4 separate regions of the Homo sapiens genome follow, and all the other regions are linked to region 3. Evidence: promoter capture Hi-C in 16 types of primary human blood cells and fetal thymus (Javierre and others, 2016). All regions are on one chromosome and are shown on one strand. The core of a region is centred on a gene start or on the middle of the fragment in contact, and the rest is flanking DNA. Distances in the headings are between cores, read along the strand shown. Region 1 holds the start of SDCBP2 (syndecan binding protein 2). Region 2 holds the start of PDYN (prodynorphin). Region 3 holds the start of SIRPB1 (signal regulatory protein beta 1). Region 4 holds the start of RAD21L1 (RAD21 cohesin complex component like 1).

Evidence for each region. Contacts are between HindIII fragments. The CHiCAGO score rates a contact against its expected background, and 5 or more counts as called.
Region 1: the fragment with the promoter of SDCBP2 here is called in contact with the fragment with the promoter of SIRPB1 in region 3 in 13 of 17 cell types (neutrophils, activated CD4 T cells, naive CD8 T cells and 10 more); the score reaches 19.7 in neutrophils.
Region 2: the fragment with the promoter of PDYN here is called in contact with the fragment with the promoter of SIRPB1 in region 3 in 2 of 17 cell types (neutrophils and monocytes); the score reaches 9.5 in neutrophils.
Region 4: the fragment with the promoter of RAD21L1 here is called in contact with the fragment with the promoter of SIRPB1 in region 3 in 5 of 17 cell types (activated CD4 T cells, total CD4 T cells, neutrophils and 2 more); the score reaches 7.0 in activated CD4 T cells.

Annotation. Positions count from the first base shown.
Region 1 is chr20:1,327,709-1,330,408 of GRCh38, forward strand. SDCBP2 (syndecan binding protein 2) reads right to left here and starts at 1,431. Exons shown (of 9, transcript NM_080489.5): 1 at 1,377-1,431. All of the region lies in intron 2 of FKBP1A-SDCBP2 (FKBP1A-SDCBP2 readthrough (NMD candidate)), which reads right to left. The region is part of intron 1 of SDCBP2-AS1 (SDCBP2 antisense RNA 1); the gene reads left to right. The HindIII fragment of the contact is 15,880 bases long and covers 1-2,700 here.
Region 2 is chr20:1,992,645-1,995,344 of GRCh38, forward strand. It overlaps PDYN (prodynorphin), which reads right to left and starts at 1,414. Exons shown (of 4, transcript NM_024411.5): 1 at 1,267-1,414. The region is part of intron 3 of PDYN-AS1 (PDYN antisense RNA 1); the gene reads left to right. RefSeq lists an enhancer at 954-1,784. The HindIII fragment of the contact is 28,770 bases long and covers 1-2,700 here.
Region 3 is chr20:1,618,633-1,621,341 of GRCh38, forward strand. SIRPB1 (signal regulatory protein beta 1) reads right to left here and starts at 1,377. Exons shown (of 6, transcript NM_006065.5): 1 at 1,237-1,377. The coding sequence starts at 1,312. The HindIII fragment of the contact is 7,240 bases long and covers 1-2,709 here.
Region 4 is chr20:1,224,722-1,227,421 of GRCh38, forward strand. It overlaps RAD21L1 (RAD21 cohesin complex component like 1), which reads left to right and starts at 1,323. Exons shown (of 14, transcript NM_001384355.1): 1 at 1,323-1,419. RefSeq lists a silencer at 1,535-1,584. The HindIII fragment of the contact is 7,037 bases long and covers 1-2,700 here.

The sequences.
Region 1 (2,700 bases), core at 181-2,680, 290 kb before region 3:
ATCACAGTTGTCTGGAGACTGAAAGATTTTTAAAAAGAGTTAAGGTGTATATGGAAAGCATTTAGCACAGCACCTAGCACATAATAGGCATTCAGTAAAAGTTAGCTGTTTATTCATTGTTTCAGCGCTTACTTACTCAGCACCTGCTAAGTCTGAGTACTGTTCTAGGTATCAGCAGTGAAGGAAAGAAGACTTGGTCCCCAAATGTACTTTCTTTGGGGGAAGAGCTGGATAAATAGGCTTTGTGACTCTGTGTGCTGTGTTAGATGGTGGGAGGCACTGGAGAGAAAGAGCAGGACGGAGGGTCATGTCAGGAGGTTCAGAAGCCTTGCTGGCTGGGTGGGGTGACATTTGAGGAAAGGCCTAATGGGGTGGGCACGGCCATTGCAGAGCCTCTCAGGTGGGAGTTGGTGTTGTGTTTAGAGGACATCTGCCAGTGAGAAGCCAGTTGTGCAGAGAGGGAGTAAGGAGGAGTAGTGGGGAGGAAGCTGGAGAAGTGAGAGGGGCCAGATCCTGGAGGGCCTGGAGGTCATGGTGAGGACTTTGGCATTTACTGTAGTGAGATGGGAGCCACTGGGGGATTTGTAGCAGCAGAGTGCCAAGGTCCAAGGGTTATTTTGACAGGCCTCCTCTGGCTGATGTTTGGAGGATGGGCTACAGGGCAGGAGTGGGAGCAGGAGCCCAGGTGGGAAGTGATGGTGGTGGAATTGTCATGAGCTTGGGCCACTGTACGTGAAGCTGCCTGTCCAGTGCTCGCCCAGCCCATACCAGGCTCGTTTTCTGCCCCATTTTCTGAGACCCTGCTGAGGAGGGCATGCACTGGCTCCTGTGTCCAGTATGTCCTTCCATTCTCCTGACTTTGTGGGCTATTTTCAGTCTCCAGATGAAGAAACCAGTTCTTAGAAAGGTGAAGCCCCTGGCGCAGTTCCCCAGCAGGTGTTTCAGTGCTGTGGCAGGAAGGTTTTTTGATAGAAACAGCCTCAGGCCAGAGAAGTCGGCCTGAGCTGTGGATTCCTTGGGAGAAATGGGCTTTTTGCCTGCCTGCAGCCTCTGGTTTCGGCTGGAATTGGCCTTTCAAGGAGCAAAGTGTGGATCTCATCTCCTTGAGCACAGTCATGGGCAGTCAGAAGGCATCGGGGGCCCTCATGATGTCTGGGTGAAGAAAATCACTCAGCCCTTAATCAAACTTGGTCCAGGGCTGGGATCAGAAGAAGAAACCCCACTTCACACTTGACTGCTTGGAGTGAAGCACTTCGAAAGGAAGCTGCCTGGGAAGTCCCAGAAGGGAAGGGGCAGGGAGGGAAGGGGACAGGGTGAGAGCAGGTCTCACTCATCCCAATCCCAGCCAGGATTGGGTCAGGGCCCCCAGCGCTTACCTGCAGGCAAGGTGCTGCTCCACGACCTTCTCCAGCTGCTGCCGCTGCTGAATCTGTTTCCCTCCCTGAAACGTAGCCCTGTCTCTCAGCTGGCTTCCTGATCTGGGAAGGGTGGTGCCTGTCCCCTGTTCAGCTGACTCACCTTGGACTGGGATGGGCACAGGTGAGGGCTGTGGCTGGGTAAACAAGGCAGGTTGCCAGCCCAGAGGAGGCCTTTGGCCTTAGTCTGGATTTGGAGGTGGGATTAAGGCCCTCACAGCTGCTGTTCAGACGGTTATGAACCAAGACTTCTTGGCCTTTTCTTAAATAGCTCTAAATTTGGGTTGGACACCTAGTCCTGCTGATCGAGGCAGTTGGCTAGAGGGCGGTTTGTGATAGGTATCTAGGGGTCTAGGCCAGGATATTAAAAAGTGGTCATATCCTGTGACCCAGCATTTCTTCTAGGAATTTGTTACAGTGGAGTCACAGGGCCCATCCATCACTGCTGCTTCTAGTAAGGAAAATGTAGAAATCCCAAATGCCCATCTCTGTGGTCTGCTTGAATAAATCATTGTCTGTGGAAGATCACAGAGCTATTAAAGTCACTTAAGGAAGAAGGTATGAGGAAACATTTCTGAGATTCTAGTGAGATGTTGAAAAATCAATATTGTGAATCTCTTCTTGCATTTTGTTTTCATTTTTTGTAAAGTGGATGTGCGTTGAAAGCAGTCTAGGAGGACATACGCTAAAATGCTGAGTATCTCTGAATGGCAGCATTGAGGGTGAGGTTTTCAGTTTGTACTTTTGTGTGTTCCAAGGTGGTTTTTTTTTTTTTAAGTTAGCTTTTGCTCTGAATGCTCATGACTTTTGTAAGGGGGAAGCAATTAAGTTTGATTATTTTAATGGGAATTTAGAGTGGTTGTCTCTTGGGAGCAGACCTAAGGAGCTGTGTGCTGAGGTGGAGATTTTTTTTTTTATGGCACATTTTTGGTGTCTTAAATTTTGAAAAGTTTAAATGTACTACTTATTCCAAAAATAATTATATAAATTTGAACAGAAAAGGAGGAAGAATTTAGTTTAGATCCTGGTGGGTTTGGTTGGGTGAGGGTGCCTGTCGCACTGGGTGCCTGGGGAGGGACGAGGGACTCGTGTGCTGGGCAGTCCCATGAGGATTGACGCTGTACACACTCAGGGTGTGTCAGTATCTGGGCTGCTTCCTGGGCCAGGCAGGCCTACGTCACAGTTCCCATGACCCACCTGGCAGAGTTGCACTAGCCTTGGGTGTCAGATCTTGTGCCTGCCAATGAAGAGCTTACAGCCCAGAGTCCCACACAGGAAACACACA
Region 2 (2,700 bases), core at 164-2,663, 370 kb after region 3:
TGCAAAAATAGAACAAAGGCAAGGTGTGGTGGGACTGGGGGGAGAAGAGGAGGGGAAAAGAGAAGGAAGGTGCCACAGAGGGGTGGGAGTGAGGCCTGGGGTGAGAAAGAACAGAAGAGGATCGACATTCTGCAATGCTTTGCAATGGATCTCGACTGGGATGCCTGTCAAATTAGAAAGGCAAGCCTTGTATATTTCAGCAACCCTTGGAAGAAAGATGATAATGAAGACTTTCAGTCTGTGGGAGGGGAATTGAAATCAGATCCAATAATCGAAAGAGCTTGTTTCCCCTGGGAAGACTGGAGACTTAATTAAGTAATGTTTGTAGAGCTTGGAGGGATTCTTGATACCCAGGAAAAAGTAAGCAGTTGCAGAATTTACTCTTCAACCTTGGAGTAGTCAGCAGGCTTTTTTTTTTTTTTTTTTTTTCCTGAAACTCATCAGCTTTTTGCTAGAATCAAACTTTGAGACTTGGTACTTTTCTGAATATGGGTCTCTGGACCAGTGAGCAAATGGCTTTCCCTTTGAGCCTCCTCCTGGCCTTAGACTCCTCTGGCTGTAGTTAATAGGAGAGCAACAAGTCCTTTCCAAGTAAAATGGACAAGAAAATGCCTGCTAAGCCTGGGCCTCCTGGCTTGTTGTCACTCCCTTTTCCCATTCCCTTCCAACAAAACATCCCCAAACTTCAACCTGTATCAAATTCCATCAAAAGAAGCCGCTCAAACCAGCACCCTGTCAGCAATTAAACACAATCCGAAAAGAATGAAAAGGCCGAACCTGGCCGTACATTGATGTACATGTTATGTGATAAATGCCAGAGCCTTGGATCTCATTAATGTCCTCAAGCCATTGTTCTCTAAGTCCAGTGAGACTCATTGACCTTTAAAATCACCCTGATTAGTGAAACCTCTCACTTCTCCCATCCAGGGTGTCCCATTTTCCCCAGACCCTGGGAATGGCATGGGAACTGCTGTGTGGGAGACTGCAAGAAGGAGACCCTGGAGCTAAAGCCAAAGGGTGGTCCTCTTGGGAGAGAGCTTACCACCTGTTTAAGCCAGGACTGTGCAGAAAGGGAGAGTCCAAAGAGCAGTCTCTCACTGGTCTGGCTTTTGTGAACTAGCCTCCTAACTGTAACCACCTTTGCTAGATAATCAGACCCAAACCTAAAATCCCCAGCCCGAGCTCCCACCATCTCTAGGTCCAGAGGACCAGGAATAAGCAAATAAAACCAAGCGATAGAATTCCAGTGCCCCCTCTGGATGTTACCTGCACTCTGCTTTGTCCCTGGGCAGCTTCTGGCCGAGCAGGTCGGAGGTGGCAGTGGCTGGTCCAAGGCTCAGGGGCCTCCTTGACTCCGGCTTGGGAGGAGGTGCCAAAGAGGCAGCTGTGAACACCACCAAAGCCCCTTCAAATGGCAGTTCTGGTGCCTCTTCCCCCCTTTTATGGACGAGAGCCTCCCCTGTCGCTCAGCCCTTGCTGAGCACAGGCTGCTGGGAGCCAATGGGGAAGTGGCTGAGAGCAGTCAGAGCACAGACCCCCAGGCCCTTCAACTCGAACTCCCTGGGCCTGACACAATAGGCTTCTCTTCGTGACAGGGATGTGGAGGAGGAAGGCAGCCGTGTTGGGGAGGGGGCGGATTCTGGGTGTAGTGCTGTTTGTCACTTGAAATCCGGCCACTTCAGTTTTTGATGCGTTTCCAGGAGAGTGTCACAGGAAAAAGAAGACAGGGAAGGACAGAGACAGAAGAGTTAGAGAAAGAGAGAGAGAGAGAGAGACTCAGAGAGAATCGGAAATCGAGAAAGAGGCAATGTCGGACCTAGGGAGTGATACAAAGGAGGGGAGAAAGAGAAAGAAAAACAGAGACAGAGAGTGGCAGAGATAGGGAGATGGGTAGAAACACAAGGAGAGAGGGACAGAGCAAGAAAAAAGGAAACCAGCCAGGTAGACTGTCAGACTCAAAACACACTGATCCACAGACAGACAGACGTGGAGACAGACAGAGGCTGAGACAGTCTTCTGATCACGGAAGAGAGTCGGAAGATGACAGCCGAGTCAGCAGGCACGTGCATGGCCCGCTGTTGCGTGCCGTGGCAACTCTGTGTTGGCTGGTGCACGCGTGTGCTGGAATCTTTTTGTGTGTACATTTGCCTGCAAACGGCATTCGGCTCTGGTACATGCCTGAGCTGGTGCCAGGCACACTAGCCCTGGCAGAAGCACAGCTCTTCCCCGACAGCCAGGAGCTGCAGTTTAGTTTTCTCTGGCGGCAACACAAAATGAATAGCAGGAAAAACCCCTCAAAATATGGGCTGCAATATGCCTCAGCACACACTCTGGGTGAGGGATGGACCCACCTCAATATACCCTTGGCCTGGACCAGCAGCAGCTTGAAGGTGGCACTCTTCATTGCTACAGAGATCTTCCAGAACATAAGGGTCTTTGAGTTTGGAAGAGAACATGCTTCTCTTCTCAGTCAATAGCAGACAGTTTGTGGTGGGAGGCACAACTATTTCAGAAGTCTGGCAGGGCCGCCCATTTTGTGGGCACCTGGCTGCACCAGGCGGTTAGGTAGAGTTGTCAGATTTAATCCTCATGACCTAGCCAGTTGGTTAATATTATCCCCATCTTGCAGATGAGAAAACAGAGGTTTGAGAGCTGAGAAACTTTCCTAGAGACACACAGCAAGTAAGTCATCCAGCTAGA
Region 3 (2,709 bases), core at 127-2,626:
CTGTGAGGTGACATCACAGCAGGGCCCAGTGGGGAATTGAGAGGCTGCTGTGCCCAGCCCTGTGGTTCTGGGGTCAGCTCCATGGCCTGAGAAGGGATCAGGACAGGTAACTTGTCTGGGAGCTGTGAGCAGGGTTCTCCCAGGCTGCACCAGGAAAGGCCCTCCAATCCTGCCTGTCTTGGGAAGGGGAAAGAAATTATCCATGGGAAATTTAAGAGAACCAAAGGAGGTTGTAGTACCTGTTATGGGCTGAATGTGTCCCACAAAATGCATGTGTTGAAGCTCTAATCCCCAGCACCTCTGAACGTTACAGTTTGGGAGACAGGGTCTTTAAGAAGTAATTTAGTTAAATGAGGTCATTGGGGTGGGCCTTAATACAACAAGACTGATATTCTCATAAGAAGAGGAGATGAGGACACAGACACACACAGAGGAAGATCATGTGTTTAAGACACAGAGAGAAAATGGCCCTGTATAAGCCAAGGAGAGAGACTTCAGTAGAAACTAACCCTGCTGACACCTTGATCTTGGACTTCAGCCTCCTTAACTGCAAGGAAGTAAATATCTGTAGTTTCAGCCACCCAGCCTGCAGTTCTTTGTTATGGAAGCCCTAGGAAAGGAATATAGGACCCAGTAAGCAGCAAATGTGGAACTTCTTAAAGAGGAAGAGGCCACAGAGAAATGGGTGGTAAGAATCAGGTCACAGGGGAGGGAGGAGCATGGGGGAACAGAGGACAAAGTGAGGAGCACCCTTAGGGAGGATGGTGGCTGAACACTCCCAGGATACACCACACCACTGCCCTACTCAAGTGAGCACTATTACAGACTTCACATCCTCAGTTTGGTGAAGAGAGAGGGCTGGGCCTAGAGCCACATAACCCTGTTAGGGTGTCTCTGAGCTTACTCTGTGGACTTGGGCATGTCACTTGGCCCTAGGGCCTCAGGACTGGTGAGGATTTAGATAATGATTCTTCTCTGCTTTTTCAATTGAAATATTATCAAAATGTAAGTAATTGTTGTTGTGGTGGTTGAATCGTCCTGTGGTTCAATGCCTCTGGTAGCCAGCTGCAGATCCACAGAGAAAGTGCTCAGCTCCCTGATTTTCTGCTCTCAGTCAAAGCCTAATCCTTGGCCTTTCTTGGCAGCACTTGTCATTGTCCGGAATCCCTGAAAGTCCAGGGACAGGCCATGGCTCAGTGGGCAGGAAAAAAGATTTTAACCGAAGGCAGTGCTCACCTGTGAGTCTCCCCAGCAGTAGCGTCATCAGCAGGAAAGGACTAGGAAGGTGGGGCCAGGAGGCTGGCACGGGCATTCTGGAGACCTTAGGAGCCTGCTCTGTCCAAACGTCTGTGCTGGGAAGATCGCAGACTCTGCTCTGAGGAGAGAAGACAAGCCCTGCCTCCCTTAGTTCAAGAGGAAGTGGCTGCGATGGAGTGAAGCAGTAACCTGCTTCTGGATTGTGAAACAGAAATCAGGAACAGCAAGCAGCTACAATGCAAGCAGTTATGCATGCCCCATTTCAGGAGAATCAGACAGGCTTAGCAGAAATAATGCTTCCTTCCCACCTGAGGTCTTAACTCCTTCCATGACTCCTAACCCCATCTTTATGTCTTCTTGGTGATTTGCCATTTGGTGCTCTTAAGCCAGGAAGGACCTGTGGTTATGAAATGTTTCCTAAACTTTCCATCTCAAGACCTCAGGATGTGGTTGGCTTGTGGTCTCATTCTACAACAGCCTCAACCAAGTGCTACTCAGTTGGGGCAGGATGAGGGATCACTGGACCTGCTCAGTGTTGGAGAGGAACAGGTCTGCTCTTGAAATGGTTCCCTATTCCGAACTTTTATAAATATAAATGGCAAAACTTAGCCCAAATTCAGTCTCATGTGGCCGTTAGCACTTTCATATGCCTGCACCCAGCAGAAGGAATTATTTCCTGACTTCTTCCAGGAGAGGAAGTGGGCTTAGGGTAATAAGGATCTGCTTTGTGAGGTGAGGTGGGGATTATGGGTTATGGAAAGGGGATATGTTTATTATGGGGGAGAATATGGAGGGCAGATTCCTGGAGCAGTCACATCGATTTCAATACTCTTTGCTCTGCACATAGAACACCTATTCCATTCATCACTGTCTTCAGATGGGAACTGAGGAGGGAGGGAGAATAAATACCCTAAGAAGATGTGCTAAGGAGTTGGGGAAGTTACTGGGCCTGCCTAGGTTCAGTTTTGCCTTCTAACCTTGGGATAATAAGTCTCACTGCCATGTTTTAGTGAACATCAAAAGAGATAATGACTATACATCCCTGAGATTCAGTAGGTTATTATTGATACTCATGGTGCCAGGTGAAGAGAGGGAACTCAAATATTGCTTTTAAATGGATTTCTACTGCATGCTGAGTTTCCCACCAGTGGCCTTCTCCCATGTTCCCCGGACTTCTGGAACCCAGCTTTTATGGTGTACTTGGTCTACCTCTGACACTCTGAGATCAATTTCTCCCTCTGGATCCTCTTCACCCTGCTTTTTGTCAATCTGTAGATGAATTCCTTTTCTTACAATCTCCAGCTGTGTGACTTTCAACAAGACACTTGACTTCTCTAAGCCTTAACTTAATTACATGTAAATGGAAGTTATAACATGCACCTTGTAGTGATATGGTAAGAGTAATATAAGCCATACAGAAGGTTTGATTCATATTTAATTATAACCAAAAAA
Region 4 (2,700 bases), core at 73-2,572, 390 kb before region 3:
ATTTCCTGAGGTCGGAAATTGGGAGCTAAACTTCAATTTGAATTCAATTTGAATCCTGTCTCTACAATTCCCAACCACGTGACCCTAGACAGGTTGCTATTTTTTCTCCAGCCCTTTCCTTATTCAAAAGGGGAAAACCAGTAACTACTTTTGTGAGATTGTTTGAAGAGTCAATGAGACAACCCATGAAAATGCCCAGCCAGGAGCCTGAACCTTATCAATAACCTTATATTGGATGCCATTGCCGCTCCAAGATTTATTAGTATTTACTATCAAACTCAAGAGAGGAAACCAGCCTTGCATCCTGATGCTCTTGCAGGATTTTTCTCAGGTTCTAGCACTTGGCCTTGACTACTGAGAACTGTGATATTCCAGGCTGGAAAATATTTGCTGTCCCCAAAGGGCAGGTCAATGTGAATAATCTTTTTAATAATAACAATAATAATAATAGCTAATATTTGTAGAGCACTTATTATTGCTTGGCTCTTTTCATGGTTCATTTTATTTATTTCTTACAATATCCTACGGCGCGAGTACTTTTATTATTTTCACTTTACAGATGAGAAAATCTGAGGTTCAAGGGATTAAAGAATTTCTCCAGTGACCTCCAGCTATAAGTGGAAGAGAAGAGACTGGACTGCATCATAGGGATGTTCAGAGATCAGCCAGAAAGATCACCTTTCACAACAGGACTATGGGGCCCAGGCCCCATCCCTGTCATGCCCCTGCTCAGGTGTCTCAGGTCCGAGCGCCAGGACAAAGCCGGAGACTGCGCACTAGGACCGGTGCGCCTTGCTCACTGTCTGACTCTATCCCTCCTGCCCCGTCCACTGTCCCCACCAACGCCCTGCGCCCTCGTCCCTCTCAGTCCCGGTCCTCTCCACTCTAGCGCACTGCCCTACTCTGTCCGTACCCCCAGCCGCCGCCGCCGCCGCCGCGCCCAGTCCCTCGGTCGCTGGCCCGCCCTTCCCCGCCCCCTGCCCCCGGTCCCTCAGCCACTGCCCCGCCCCGCCCGTCCATACCCCTCCACGCCCCTCCCCATGTCCTGCCCGTCCCTCTCCATCCCCTGCACGCCCCGCCCCTCGCCCACTGCCCCGCCCCATCCCCTGTCAGTCCCGTCCATCGCCCACTGCCCCGCCCCGTCTCCTGCACGCCCCGCCCCGTCCCCTGCACGCCCCGCCCTCGCCCACTGCCCCGCCCCGTCCCCTGCACGCCCCGCCCCTCGCCCACTGCTCCGCCCCGTCCCCTGCACGCCCCGCCCTCGCCCACTGCCCCGCCTTCTCCACGCCCCGCCCCTCCCCGCCCCGCGCCTGCCGCGCATTGCAGACGCCCAGCGGCGCCAAGAACCCGGCCAAGCTGACTTGGCGACTCCTCGCAGCCCCTGCTCTGGCACGCCACACCTCAGACGAGGCTTTGAAAGTAGGGCGCAGCCTGAGAGGCCGGCCGGACCCCGAGTGCTGTAGGCGGGCTGGGAGATGGGGGCCGCCGCCACCCACATTCCCACACGCACCCGGCGCCGGCGCCTCACGCCGTGTTAGCTCGCGGCGCCAAGCCCGGAGGGTCCCGCCTGAGGAAGAAAGGTCGTCGCCCGCAGCCCAGCTGGGGCTGGAGGCGCGACCCGGGGTCTCCTCGCCCGCACGCGGAAGAAAATGGGCGCTGTGGCCTCAGTTTCCCTCTGTGAGCACCCGGCCCGGAACTCTGAGGAGTCGTCTGTGGAGGAGCCTTTGGCGTCCCCCTGCCCCTGAGCGTGGCCGTCAGCTCTTCCCAGCCCCTGCACTTTGCTTTCCCCTCCCTCACGCCCGGAAGGGTCTCGCCCTGCCCGGCTCAGCCCTCTCTCCCCACGCCCCTCTCCCAGGGTCCCCGCCCGGTCCCCTTCCGACCCCTTCCTCCCTCCCTTCGCTCCCTCCCCGCCACCGCCGCCACCCTGCCCTTTGCGGGCCGGTTTCCACGGAGTGGCCCCATCCCGGTGGCTTCACGTTGCACGAAGTCAGTTCAATCTGGAGACTGAAAAAGCCTCCGGGACGTGGGGCGGGAGGGTGCGGGGGGAGTTTGTGTGCGTATTTTGTGGGGAGGGGAAAAAGGTTAGGTAATATGTGCTCGGGAAAATCAATGTCTCAGGAATAGCAAATCTCAGGGTTTGGGTTTTTTCTTTGTTTGTTTTCTCTTTTAAGAAGTCCATCACTTAAAAAGTACATTTGATTTTTTTGAGACGGAGTCGCCCTCTGTCGCCCAGGCTGGAGTGCAGTAGGGCGATCGCGGCTCATTGCAGCCTCCGTCTCCCGGGTTCGAGCGATTCTCCTGCCTCAGCCTCCCAAGTAGCTGGGATTACAGACGCCCGCCACCGTGCCTGGCTACTTTTTGTACTTTTAGTAGAGACGGGGTTTCACCATGTTGGCCAGGCTGGTCTCCAGTTCCTGGCATCAAAGTGATCCGCCCGCCTCAGCCTCCCACAGTGCTGGGATTACAGGCGTGAGCCACTGCGCCAGGCCAAAAAGTACATTTTAAAAGTACCTCACACCACTGGGAGCCATTTAAAAAGATAAATAGGAATTTATTCCGAGAGAGCGAAACACACAGACTAAAAAGGAAAGTAGTGGAACCAGCGCAAGGTACAAGCCATATGCATTAAAATCTCCAGCTGCCCCGTAGGGGAACATGGTTTGGCGGATTGCGTCACCTTTAGTTGGGGCATAATGATTG